2 separate regions of the Homo sapiens genome follow, and region 2 is linked to region 1. The links are contacts of gene promoters, found by promoter capture Hi-C in blood cells and fetal thymus (Javierre and others, 2016). All regions are on one chromosome and are shown on one strand. The core of a region is centred on a gene start or on the middle of the fragment in contact, and the rest is flanking DNA. Distances in the headings are between cores, read along the strand shown.

Region 1 (5,647 bases), core at 1,005-3,504:
CAATGCATTTCAAATGAAAAGTCTGACCTTTTAGGAAAGATAAAACTGCATCTCCCCCAATGAACGTGCATAAGCAATTTGTTGCAGTAATGTTTATTACATCAGATGTTGAGCCCACGGGCTCTCTATTTGCACTCAAACTCTTAAAGAGAGCATAGCCAGAATCAGCACTCACCAGCTTGTAAACCACTCTGCAGGGCAATGATTTTCTGCTGCTGCTGATCAATTAGGTTTGTTAGTGCTTTCACATGCTTCAAGGTAAGTTCAAGAACCACTGCTTTTTCCAAGTGACCCAAAGTCTGGAAGGAAAAGAGCCTTAGTCAGCGGTGAGGTCAGAGAAGTCCCACCTTTGGGACATTTATTAGCAATGAGAAATGAGAAAAGAAAAAAAAAAGTGGAATAGTGTTTCCTGGTTGGCTGTTTTAAGTCTGTAGGTCATGCTTTTAAAAAGATAGACAGATACACTCATATATGTGTGTGTGTGTGTGTGTGTGTGTGTGTGTGTATATATATATAATATATATATATAATTAAATAATTTAAAAAAACGGGTGCCACCTGTCTTTGGAGGCATTTTGGAAGCTGCAACTACCTCAGGAAAATCCTTTGACAGATAAATTTCTCCAGCAGCCTCTGCCGACCTTAACTCAGGGGAATCCAGAGATAACATTTTCCTGCAGTGGTGTCAACTCAGAGAGGGACCTCTATTACGTCTGGCAGCCAAGAGGCTTTCCCTACTTCTTTCCTTACACCCTTTCAGAACTTCCAGCTCATCCAGGCTTTTTTGTTCCTCCCGAAATACTATTTTTTTTTTTTCCATTTCCCCAACCAAAGGCTGCGAAGTAGCCGAGGGCTACTGTCAAGAAAGGACAGGCCGTAAAAATCACACACCAAAGCAAGTCCCCTTATTTGACAACAACAACAAAAAAGGTGGGGGGAGTGGTAGAGGGGAAGGGGTAAATAAAATGTGTGTGTTTCTTGGCGTGTTCCTTTAAGTGAGAAAAACTAGGGAATCCTGAAAATCACCAGAAGTTAAACTCCTGAAAAGGAAGGCCAGTTGGTGTTGGAGCCAACTTGGAGAGGTCCAAGTGGTTCTCGCCTCATTTGCATGAGTCAGCCAGAAAACGCCAGGACTGTGGAGGAGGACCCCACCGCAGAGCCACCCGCCAGCTCTGATCCGCCAGTCTGGTCTGCAGTTCCCCGCGGAACCTGCAGGCGGCGAGTGACCCGCCCGCCCTCTGGGCAAAGGACTGGGTTGGAAAGGGGCCAGCTTCTCACTTACTGTAAGTTTGAGATGTTCGGGTAGGAGATCCTTCAGCTGGGCGATGCACTCGTTAATCCGGTCACGTCTCTTTTTCTCGATGAGCCGGTGCGGCAATTTGTAGGTCTCCTGCAAGACGCACGGGGAGGCGGTGGGCGCTTGGGGAAGGAGATGAGAAGCCTATCCTCCCAGCCCCGCAGCAACAGTCCGGCAGAGGAGCAGAGTAGCAGAGTAGCACCCAGAACCATCGTCTGCCCTTTCTTTTCCAAGTCACTCAGAAGAGGCACCGAGCCCACACCCTGCATCCCCTCGCCAACCTCAAAGCGAGAAAACTTTTCTTGGAAACTCAGCGCGCGCGAGGGGCTGAGCGCAGGGTCCCTAGGGGTGCACTTGCTTACCTTGCTGTCCTCGCTCCGCTTTATTCCCCGTCTTGACTTGTACACTTGGTACATGTGGGCAGGGTACATCCTGCAGGAAGAGAGACCAGGAAGGGTCGTGACTGCTTGCGCACGGCTGCAGGCGTTCTGCCGGGCAAGAACCTCCCGGTGCGCCCGGAGCTGCTCCAAGTTGAGAGTGGCGCATAACATGGGGCTGCAGTTGAGGCTTGAAGGGCCAAGGAGTGCCAACTTACCCTGGTAGGTCTCCGTGCTCCAGTCCCGGTGCTTTGGGCAGGCAGGCGGGGGGTGGTTGCGCGCTGGGGATCCGCTCCATGGCGCGGCGAGCCGGGGCCACTGCGCGCTCCTGTCTGCACTAGCGGAGCGTCTGGATGAGGACTGCCCTGGAGAGGGCTTCGGGGGTCTCTCCGCAGATGTTCCTCTGAGTCTGAGCTCTTTGAAATCCCCTGGGCTGCTGGAATCTTCGGCTTTGAGATGCAGCTTCAGTTGGGGGCGTGCATGGCCCGGTGTCCCCGCGGCCTCTGGCTCCGACTCAGCGCACAGACTGGCGGTGTGTGCTCCCTGCGCGGTCTGTCTGCGCCGTGCGAGCCAAGTGAATGAGAAGTGGGGCGGGCGGGGAGGCGGGAGGGAGCGGGTGAGGGGGGGGCGGTTAGGGCGGAGTGGGGGGGTGGGGGGGCAAGCCGAGGAGTAATGGAGAGGCTGCGGGCTGGGTTAAATGGGAGCGAGTGGGTGGGTTGGAGCTACGTGTTCTACCCTGTGACTCCAGGCACGTCTGGCCACTGCCGGGGAGGGAAGGAGCGACCTGCCCGCCCTCCCCCGGCTTCATCACATGAGTCTCACGTGTTGGACAACGCTCCGGCGGCTGCTAGGGAGCCCCCACCCCCAGCCCCGGCCCCCAGGTGTCTGCGGCTGCGGCCGCCTTTCCCCGAAGAGGGGGTGGCAGCACGACCTGGGTCCTGCCCAGTTGGGTGGGGGGCGCGGAAGCTGGAAGGGACGGGGGTGCTGGGGGAGGGGGAGAAGTTGGTAACGTGGGCGAACCTGCCCCAGGGAAATGAAGTAAGTTCCCGTCTCCTGGGAGGGAACGGGGGAGGACGGATCCGCCCGCGTCTGACTCAAGCCGGGAGAGGAATATCCCCTTGCTAGCTCCAGCCCAGCCCTCTTCCTCCTCCCCCGCCCGGCCCGCTTGGAGGAACCGGCGCGCTGCGGAGGGAGTCGCCCGGCCCCCCAGCCTTCCCCAGAGGCTGGGGTTTCTTTCCGTCCTGGCTTCCCTGCCCCCACTGCTCACCCTCGCGTCCAGGAATTGCCCGCCTTGGGGAGGGACCGAGGGGCGGGGCGGATGTCACCCCATGGGAAGCGGGCCGACGGCCAAGCGCAGGGGCAGCTGAGGCTGCCGCCGAGCACGCCGCGCGCACCTGACCGTGGAGGGTGTGAGCCGAGGGCCCCTCGCTCCCAGGAGCTCCGCTCCTGGGCACAACCTGCGGGCGGGCGGGCACCCGGTTGCGCAGCCCCCTGGGTGCCCCAGTGTCACCCCCTTCCTCCCGGCCAGTCAAGCGCAGAAAGATACCGGGCGCTGTGCCCGGCGCTCCCTCCCTCCTCTGCCCCCTCCGGAGCAGAGGCGCCCCGGTCGCCTCCCCTCCGGCTGCAGCGTTACACAACCGCGGCGGCGGCGCCTGCCCTGCAGCAGCGCAGGGCGTGACGCTTCACGTGGCCGGGCTCAGGTCGTAGCACCGCGGACCGCGAGCCTCTCTGCGTTGACCCAGGGACTGAGACCCCGGGGACGTGGCGTGCCAGCCCGGATCGGCCCTCTCCCTGCCTGTTGGGAAGTTCGGCGGCGCTGTTCGCGGTCTGCACCCAGGGCAGGAGGGATGAGAGAGACAAGAAAAAAAAACCGCCTGTTACAGGGAAATCTTAGCAATCATGCGGTCGACACGTATTTCTTGAGCCCCCTGCTCTGCACTAGGCGCTGCACTAGTTGATGAATCCGACACGGATCCTGCCCTTGAACTTGCAGAACCTCTAGGAAGAGGTTAAATTGAGCAATAAAGGAAAGGCAGCCCTGGGAAAATTGTATCGAGGCCACTGGCTGACAGAGGGGAAAAACAATGAGAACTTGTGTTGCTTTGTGTTTTGTTTTTAATTTCATTGTAACCGAGATGCCTAGGTAGAGAAGCGGGGGAGAAGCTAACCCAAAGCCCCAAGCCCGGGGCGGAAGGACCTCCTCCAGCGGCCCCAGATCTCTGCAATCTCACTTAGGCTGCCGGAGGGCCCCACCCACCTCCCCCGGAAAGGTCCGGGCTCTGTGACCTTCTCACTCAGCCGGGAGCAGGGAAAACAGCTGAAACTCCAATCCCGCGGTGTGAGCAGCGCTGATACAGTCAGAGGAGGGAGCCAGTGGAAACTCATGACTAAAATAAGGCCTGGCTGGGGATTTCACTGACCTCTGCGCTCCCCTGCCCTGCAAGTTCGGGGAGTTGAGAGATGACTGTAAGCCCTTCCCACTGCGCTTCGGGTCAGTCACCCCACTGCTGAGTGACCTGGCTGTGGGAAGGATTGAAAAAAAAATGGGGTCACTGCCGAGACTGGGCGAAGAGTAGTAGCCTCGGGTGCAGTTAGGGGATCAGTCTTAACTGGCAGTGCCCTTGACGACCTAGAGAACTGGCATTCACAAGTTGACCAAACTGGCAGTGTATTTCCTTCAGGTCGCCTTGGAGAGCTCCCGCTTCCTGTTTATATTTCACAAGCGTCAAACTCTTTAGCAAGTGTGAGAAATGCCTCCTTTTCTAACTGCTAACTGGCATGACCTCACTTCGGGGCTCAGAGATCCCTCCCTGCCAGAATGTACTTTTGCTGGCCAAAGGCGGGGACCGGGGTCCGCCCTGGAAACGCGCTTTCAATCTTGGGCGACCTGCTTCATTGTGTGATTTTAATAAGGATGAAGGGCTGTCACGGCTGCGTCAAAACCACGGTTCCAGCAGGAAATAAGCACTGGGAGAGGACAGGACACGTACCCCCTTCCGCCGACACCCCCCACCCGATGGCAGGAGGGAGCCCAAACCTTGCAGCTTCCATGGCTCATGGCTCATGACAATATCATTCTTAAAATTCTTTGAGTTTATCAATACGTTTTGCCCTTACCTGCCCTACAACTGTAAATAACAAAATGTATGCATTTCCTACTTTTTATTTGTTCCGAATGTATTCTCAAGCTTCAAGAACGGTTCCCATCCTACCAGACTTCCACCGTATCAGGATTAAAAAACAAAACAAAACTCTGTTATTCTCTCCATAGCTTATGGCTTTTAAAAAATAATAATTTGAACAAACAATTCCTACGTGGCATAGATCTTTCCATCCTGGAGAATGTTACTATTTCAGTCTGTCATCTTTTGTAGATATTAAAAACCTTTCGTATGTCAATTTCTTTGCTCCTCACCACCACCTTTTAGGCAGGTACTAGTATTAGCTCGATGCATTTGACACGTGTTTATTGTTATTCAATGCCAGACACTGAAATAGGCCCTAGGGATGTATAACATATTCTGTTTGGAAAATTGAGGCTCAAGGAGGCTAAATAACCTGCCCCAGGTTATATAGTCTGGGATTCAGTCTGAGACAGGCCCCCAGGTTTGTTGGACTCCAAAGCTTGTGCTCTTAATCACTATACTTACGGTTGCCTGGTAGGGTTGTTTGGGTTGTGCACCGCTCAACTCCAGGGGGAGCTATTCACATTGCAGTCTGTGTGAGAGCACCCTCTGGAGTTGTGCAATGTGGCACTGAGCAGCTGCACTGGGTAATCCTGCCATTTTGTAGCCGTCCCTGCTGTTTTGTCTCTTCTAAGTGGGGAGAGAACATAATTTCGTACAAGAGAAAGATGGGATCTTTCTCTTCTTTCCTATTGGGACTCAGCATCTTGGTGGCCTTACACTGTGTGCTGAATGAGTCTATACTGTTACTATCTATAGTAACTCCCGGGCCCTTCCTGTGCAAGAAT
Region 2 (6,261 bases), core at 1,377-3,876, 1.8 Mb after region 1:
ATGTTGTCACTAGAAAAATGCTGTGAAATTCTTCCTGCTAGGTTATCTTTCTCTCAGTTTTAATTAACAGATCTTGCCTGCTTTGTTTCTTTTCTTACTTATGTAGGAACTGATTGAAGTTGAGAGTTTGAGAGAACGTTAGAGGTTGACTTGTTGAAGCCTATCATTTTGCAGATGAGGAAACTAAAATTTAATTGGGCAGAATGAGTTGTCTAAGGTGTTAAAATTAGTTACTGGTGAGGGAGAAGAGAAAAATCTCCCATATAGAAGAATTTTAAATAACTTACATTTCCTCTTCAAGGGAGTGGAGCATAACTCATCACCCCTGAAGTGGAGGCTACACCTAGTGATTTGCTTCCGAAGGGTACAATGTGAAAAGGAGGGGGGAAAGGAACTTTACAGCGGAAAAACCTGACACACACTGCTGTAGCCAGGTGATCAAGGTTAACAGCAGGAATAGTTCATAATATATAGGCTGGATATGTAATAAAAACAGCACATTGGCAACAGACCCCATTTCTAAAAAGGAAAAGAATAACAACACTTCACTTCTGTGGTCTTCCTCCCTAAAACACGTATCCTCAGTCTAATCATGGGAATTACATCAAACAAAACCCAGTTGAGGGATACTCTACAAAAGGCCTGACCAGTACTCCTCAAAACTCAGAAACAAGCAAAGTCTGAAAACCCCCCTAGCCCAGAGGAGGGTAGGGGGACCTGATAACTAAATGTAAAGTGGGATCCTGGAACGCAAAAAGACTAGATAAAAACTAAGGGAATCCATTTAAAATATGAAGCTTAGTTAGAGTAATGTACCAAGACTGATTCCTTCGTTGTGGCAAATGTACCATACTAATATAAATTAACTATAGGGGAAAAGGATGTGTGACACACGGGAGCATTCTGTACTATCTTTACACTTCTCTGTAAATGTTAAACTATTCTAAAATTCACAGTTGACTTAAAAAAAAAAAATAGCTACTGACAGAGCCCAGCACGGACCCCAGTCCTCTGGCTCCCTCTTCACGGTGCTGTAGAGTTTACCAAATGCATGTGGTTTTAGAAGTACCCCTCTTTTGAAGAAGGAATTACATGTTTGAAAGGTTTTCATTCATCTTTTTTTTTTTCTTACAATATTCTACTTTTATAGCAGAGAGTGAGGAAGAAGATGAAATGGAAGTTGAAGACCAGGATAGTAAAGAAGCCAAAAAACCAAACATCATAAATTTTGACACCAGTCTGCCGACATCACATACAGTATGTAATTTAGTGACAGATCTAATATAATAGATATACATTTAAATGTAGATAAAAGTTCATAAAAACAAGTGACTGATATTTGTATTACTAGATATCAGAAATTGTGGATGAGGACATGGGCTATTTGCCAGTAGATAAACATTTAACTGTAATTTTTAAGAAGCTTAATACTATGTTGTGGTAGAATTGTTTGAGGAATTGTTGCTCTTTATACTCTTTCTGGTAATTGAGCTATTAAATACTTCTCTGTACTTCTAGGTACTAGAGTGTTATTGAACATACTAACATTTTATACTTACTGTTTGTGATATGTGGGCATAGAGATATTTCTTGGTAAAAATAATACTTTGTACTAAAAAAATTCTTGAATTTCTGTGTTTGTGATATATTCATAAAAGATTAGAAATTCTTCTAAGAGTTAAAGTTAGATTAAAAATTATATTTTAACATGGGATGCTTATATACCACGTTTATTAAGTGTTTGTAACCCCATTTGTATTTTTTTCTTTTTTTTTGAGACAGAGTGTTGCTCTGTCGCCCAAGCTCGAGTGAGTGCAGTGGCACAATCTCAGCTCACTGCAGCCTCCACCTTCCAGGTTCAAGTGATTCCCCTGCCTCAGCCTCCCGATTAGCTGGGATTACAGGTGTCCACCACCACACCTGGCTAATTTTTGTATTTTTAGTAGCAACAGGGTTCCACCATGTTGGCCAGGTTGGTCTTGAACTCCTGACCTCAGGTGATCCGCCTACCTCGGCCTCCCAAAGTGCTGGAATTACAGGTGTGAGCCACTGTGCCCGGCCTGTATTTCTTTTAATGTGATTTGCTCTTTAGTCTGTTGAGCTTACATTTTTATTACATATCGATCATGACACTATACCTATATATGTTTTTATATAGTACCTAGGTGCTGATATGGAAGAATTTCATGGCAGGACTTTGCACGATGACGACAGCTGTCAGGTGATTCCAGTTCTTCCACAAGTGATGATGATCCTGATTCCCGGACAGACATTACCTCTTCAGCTTTTTCACCCTCAAGAAGTCAGTATGGTGCGGAATTTAATTCAGAAAGATAGAACCTTTGCTGTTCTTGCATACAGGTAAAATATTAGAGTCCATTTGCTTAATACATTCCCTCTCATGGGTAATTGCAGTGGTCAGTGTTGAAGCCAAAGCAGGCTGTTATTTCGCATGTACAGGAGAGGTTGGGTAAGAATGTGAGGTTAGGAATTTGGTTAAGTAGAAGTTTGATAGTGCAAGTTGGAGTATTTTTGTTCATTTCATTACCATCTAACTCAGCTCTTCACCTTCATACACAATTTAACTTTCTGGTATTTGAAAAATTTTTAATCATTTATATTTGATGAAAAACATTTCTGGAATCTTAGTTTCAATAACTGTCTTCATTATAGAGAAGTAGTGCTTTTTTATTTTAACGTAAAGGATTACTTTTCCAAAAGAGTGGTCTTTTCTTTCCCTCTCTCTCAAAATTCATAGGTTGTACCACTTTAAATTGAAGCTGAATTTTAAGTATCCCATGGCAAATAAAGGAAATCTGCGGTAGAGGCAGGAAATACATACAGGAAGCTCCCACCCCAGTACAGTGCTGCCAGTAAGCAGCAGAAATGATAAGTCATTTGACAGAGTGAAAGAATGTTTGGTTTGGGAAATGAGTTTAAACCCCTGTAAGTTCTAAATTATTTTCAGTGACTAGAAATCTATTATTTTCCTAAAGTTCTCTAATTGTACTTCCTGAGTCCTTCTTGTATATCCCCCATGTGATTTAAAAATAAATAAAATTGGCCGGGCATGGTAGCTCACGCCTATACTCCCAGCACTTTGGGAGGCCGAGGCGGGTGGATCACCTGAGGTCGGGAGTTTGAGACCAGCCTGACCAACATGGTGAAACCCCGTCTCTACTAAAAATACAAAAATTAGCCAGGCGTGGTGGTATGTGCCTGTAATCCCAGCTACTCAGGCAGCTGGGGCAGGAGAATCACTTGAACCTGGGAGGCAGAGGCTGCAGCAAGCCGAGCTCATGCCACTGCTCTCTAGTCTGGGCAACGCAGCGAGACTCCATCTCAAACAAATAAATAAATAAATAAAATTATCCTAGCTTTGTAGTAAGGGTTGATTCTATAAATTGTTTACCTGTATTTATTGCTTTGCCTACTTTGCATATATTTAAAACTCAAATGTTCAAAATTCTTTCCTTTTAAAATTTTCTTGGAAGCAATGTACAGGAAAGGGAAGCACAGTTTGGAACAACAGCAGAGATATATGCCTATCGAGAAGAACAGGATTTTGGAATTGAGATAGTGAAAGTGAAAGCAATTGGAAGACAAAGGTTCAAAGTCCTTGAGCTAAGAACACAGTCAGATGGGTAAGAAATAACATATACCTTAATGCTCTTTGAATGTTTCCTAATGAAATAGTTTTCTTGTACTTTTTCTGTTCTACTGAGCCTTCATATTTTGTAACTTTTAACTAGTTGTTCTCTTTCCCTTCTAAGGTATAGCCCAGTGGTTTCCAACCTTGCTATGCATCAGAATCACCTGGGAAGCTTTTAAAACTATAGAAGCTTGAGTTCCAACCTCATCTCCCATCTCCAGAGAGTGATGAGGCTGCAGCATCTTTTAAAAATGATTTTCAGGTGATTCTAATGTCTCTCCAGGTTTGAGAACAATCATGTAAATCCAAAGGGAAGTGTTGTTTGGGATTTGGCTTCTTTAGGATTGAAGGCCTCTCGGAGCATAAGAGGATAGGGAGACCAGAGGCTTGTGAGCTGTTCGTGTGCTCACCAGGACAGCTGTGGTTTTTGTAGCATTGCTATGATGTTTGAAAGCCACACTGGTTACATCTGCCTACTGCTCCAGCTGAGCTATAAAAGCCATTTATATTTCGTGTCCCTCTCCAGTGTGAATTTTATATCACCCAGAAATGCTATTTACATAATAAATGATCAATAAATACTTGTAGTCTATGTGCCTTGTGACATTTAGAAATTCCCTGAGTATACTGTTTCAGCAGTAATTCATTTTGACAAAGCTGTCATGGCTGGGTTTTGCACAAATTCAAGGGATACACATTAAAACAGACACAAAAAAGTCCAGTTTATTTTATCCTCTTTTAAAAAGGAAACAAAGCATTTGCCTTGATCACTGGATATTACCTCTTAACGGAGTGCTTCTAAACTGTGGCATCACCCGTGAGGTCTCACAGATACACAGTCCTGGTACGCAATACAAGTACTAGTGAATTGGTTTCCAATTTATACCCACAGTTGAAAATCTCATCAGACCTCTGTGTTGCCCAGGTGGTATCTTCTGAACACATGCAAGTTCTGAGTATTTTGGGGTTTTTTTGGGCGGGGTGGGGGATTAAGACTGAAAAAACAATGTGAGCAGCATGAGGGCAGGAACGTTTTGTCTGTTTTGTTCACATGGTGGGCGTTCCTATATATTTTTGAATTATGAAAATATTGACATGTCAGGTAGCTCCTTGGAGCTAAAGAGAGCATAGAGGCATGTGAGATGGGATTGCCAGAGCTCTTAGGGTGTTTAGTTCTCCCCAGGTACTTTTCCAGAACATTCACTGTGCAAACTTTGATAGCCTTACCACATTGCACTGTCCTGACAGGATTTTATGTACGTCTCCCTCAATAGATAAGCTGCTTGAGAACAATGACCAAGACTTATTTATGTTTTACATTTAGGACCATAAATTTTATATAAATGAATGAAAGAATGATCTCCTGGGGCGGGTGGGGGTGGTCTGCATTATGATAATTAGCAAACTGTTTTGTTACTGTGGATTTTGCTAACAGTTCCATTTTTAAAGTACTTCTTATCTTCATACAATTTTGATTATTTGTGAATACTTTTATAGAAATCATTAAGGAAAATTGACTTGGGGAAAAGTATATTTCTCAGACTGTCTTGACATTAGTGACTTTTGATTGTGGAAAAACTATTGAACACAAGATGGCAGTATACCGTTAACTCTGAAAACAAGACAAGGAATGGATTTTTGACTCTAGTAAAGATTAACATCAGGCCGCGCACAGTGGCTCATGCCTGTAATCCCAGTATTTTGGGAGGCCAAGGCAGGACGATCACCTGAGCTCACGAGTTTGAGATCAGCCTGACCAACATGGAGAAACCCCATCTCTACTAAAAATACAAAGTTAGCCGGGCATGGTGGCGCATGACTGTAATCCCAGCTACTAGGGAGGCTGAGGCAGGAGAATCGCTTGAACCCGGGAGGCAGAGGTTGTGGTGAGCCAAGATGGCACCACTGCACTCCAGCCTGGGCAACAAGAGGAAAACTCCATCTCAAAGGAAAAAAAAGATTAACATCAAACTGATACAGGTGGACAAGACTTGGAAAGGGCACATTCTCTCTAGTATTCTGTAGACCCATTATTAAGGCCTCTCATAAGGGTATGTCTGTCTTCATTTAAAAGGCCTCTGTGGAATGAGATTTCTCTTGGCTCCACTACTTCTCTGGCCCTGTAACCACCTTCACTGGAAATGGTGAAATGAAAGAAATTCTGGAGTTGATTTAGTTCAGTCTCGTCTTTTTCTGTATCAGAATGCCAGGTACTAGAGAGGTTAAGTAATTTGCTTAAACAGCAAATAAGCGACAGACCTGATTGGTTCTAGGTCCCATGACTTCCAAACTGGTACTCCTTCCATTATACCAGAATTTCTCTATAACACATTTGAAACTCAAGCCAGCTTCCCTTTCTCCAGTAAAATATTTAATATTCATTTGTTTTTCTTAGAGAAATAAGCATATAGAAAAATAAAAATTAAAAAATATAAATATCCATCTTTTACCTAAATGACACTTCATTTATTAAAAGTACACTACAGAGGCCAGGTGTGGTGACTCATACCTGTAATTTCAGCCCTCTGGAAGGCCAAGGTATGTGAATCATTTAAGGCCAGCAGTTCAAGACCAGCTTGGCCAACATGGTGAAGCTGCATCACTACTAA

The links. Contacts are between HindIII fragments. The CHiCAGO score rates a contact against its expected background, and 5 or more counts as called.
Region 2: a fragment that was not itself captured here is called in contact with the fragment with the promoter of BHLHE40 in region 1 in 1 of 17 cell types (non-activated CD4 T cells); the score reaches 5.2 in non-activated CD4 T cells.

Annotation. Positions count from the first base shown.
Region 1 is chr3:4,976,044-4,981,690 of GRCh38, reverse strand. It overlaps BHLHE40 (basic helix-loop-helix family member e40), which reads right to left and starts at 2,254. Exons shown (of 5, transcript NM_003670.3): 1 at 1,893-2,254; 2 at 1,660-1,729; 3 at 1,283-1,390; 4 at 176-299. The coding sequence starts at 1,972. It overlaps BHLHE40-AS1 (BHLHE40 antisense RNA 1), which reads left to right and starts at 1,730. Exons shown (of 3, transcript NR_125916.1): 1 at 1,730-1,896. RefSeq lists enhancers at 1,271-1,865, 1,973-2,122, 3,423-3,542, 3,673-3,722, 3,843-4,032 and 1 more and silencers at 2,273-2,332, 2,543-3,312. The HindIII fragment of the contact is 7,213 bases long and covers 1-4,864 here.
Region 2 is chr3:3,170,159-3,176,419 of GRCh38, reverse strand. CRBN (cereblon) reads left to right here. Exons shown (of 11, transcript NM_016302.4): 2 at 1,151-1,257; 3 at 2,159-2,361; 4 at 3,495-3,644. Among named protein-coding and RNA genes, the nearest start is that of CRBN, 6.4 kb to the left of the region's middle. The HindIII fragment of the contact is 2,401 bases long and covers 1,426-3,826 here.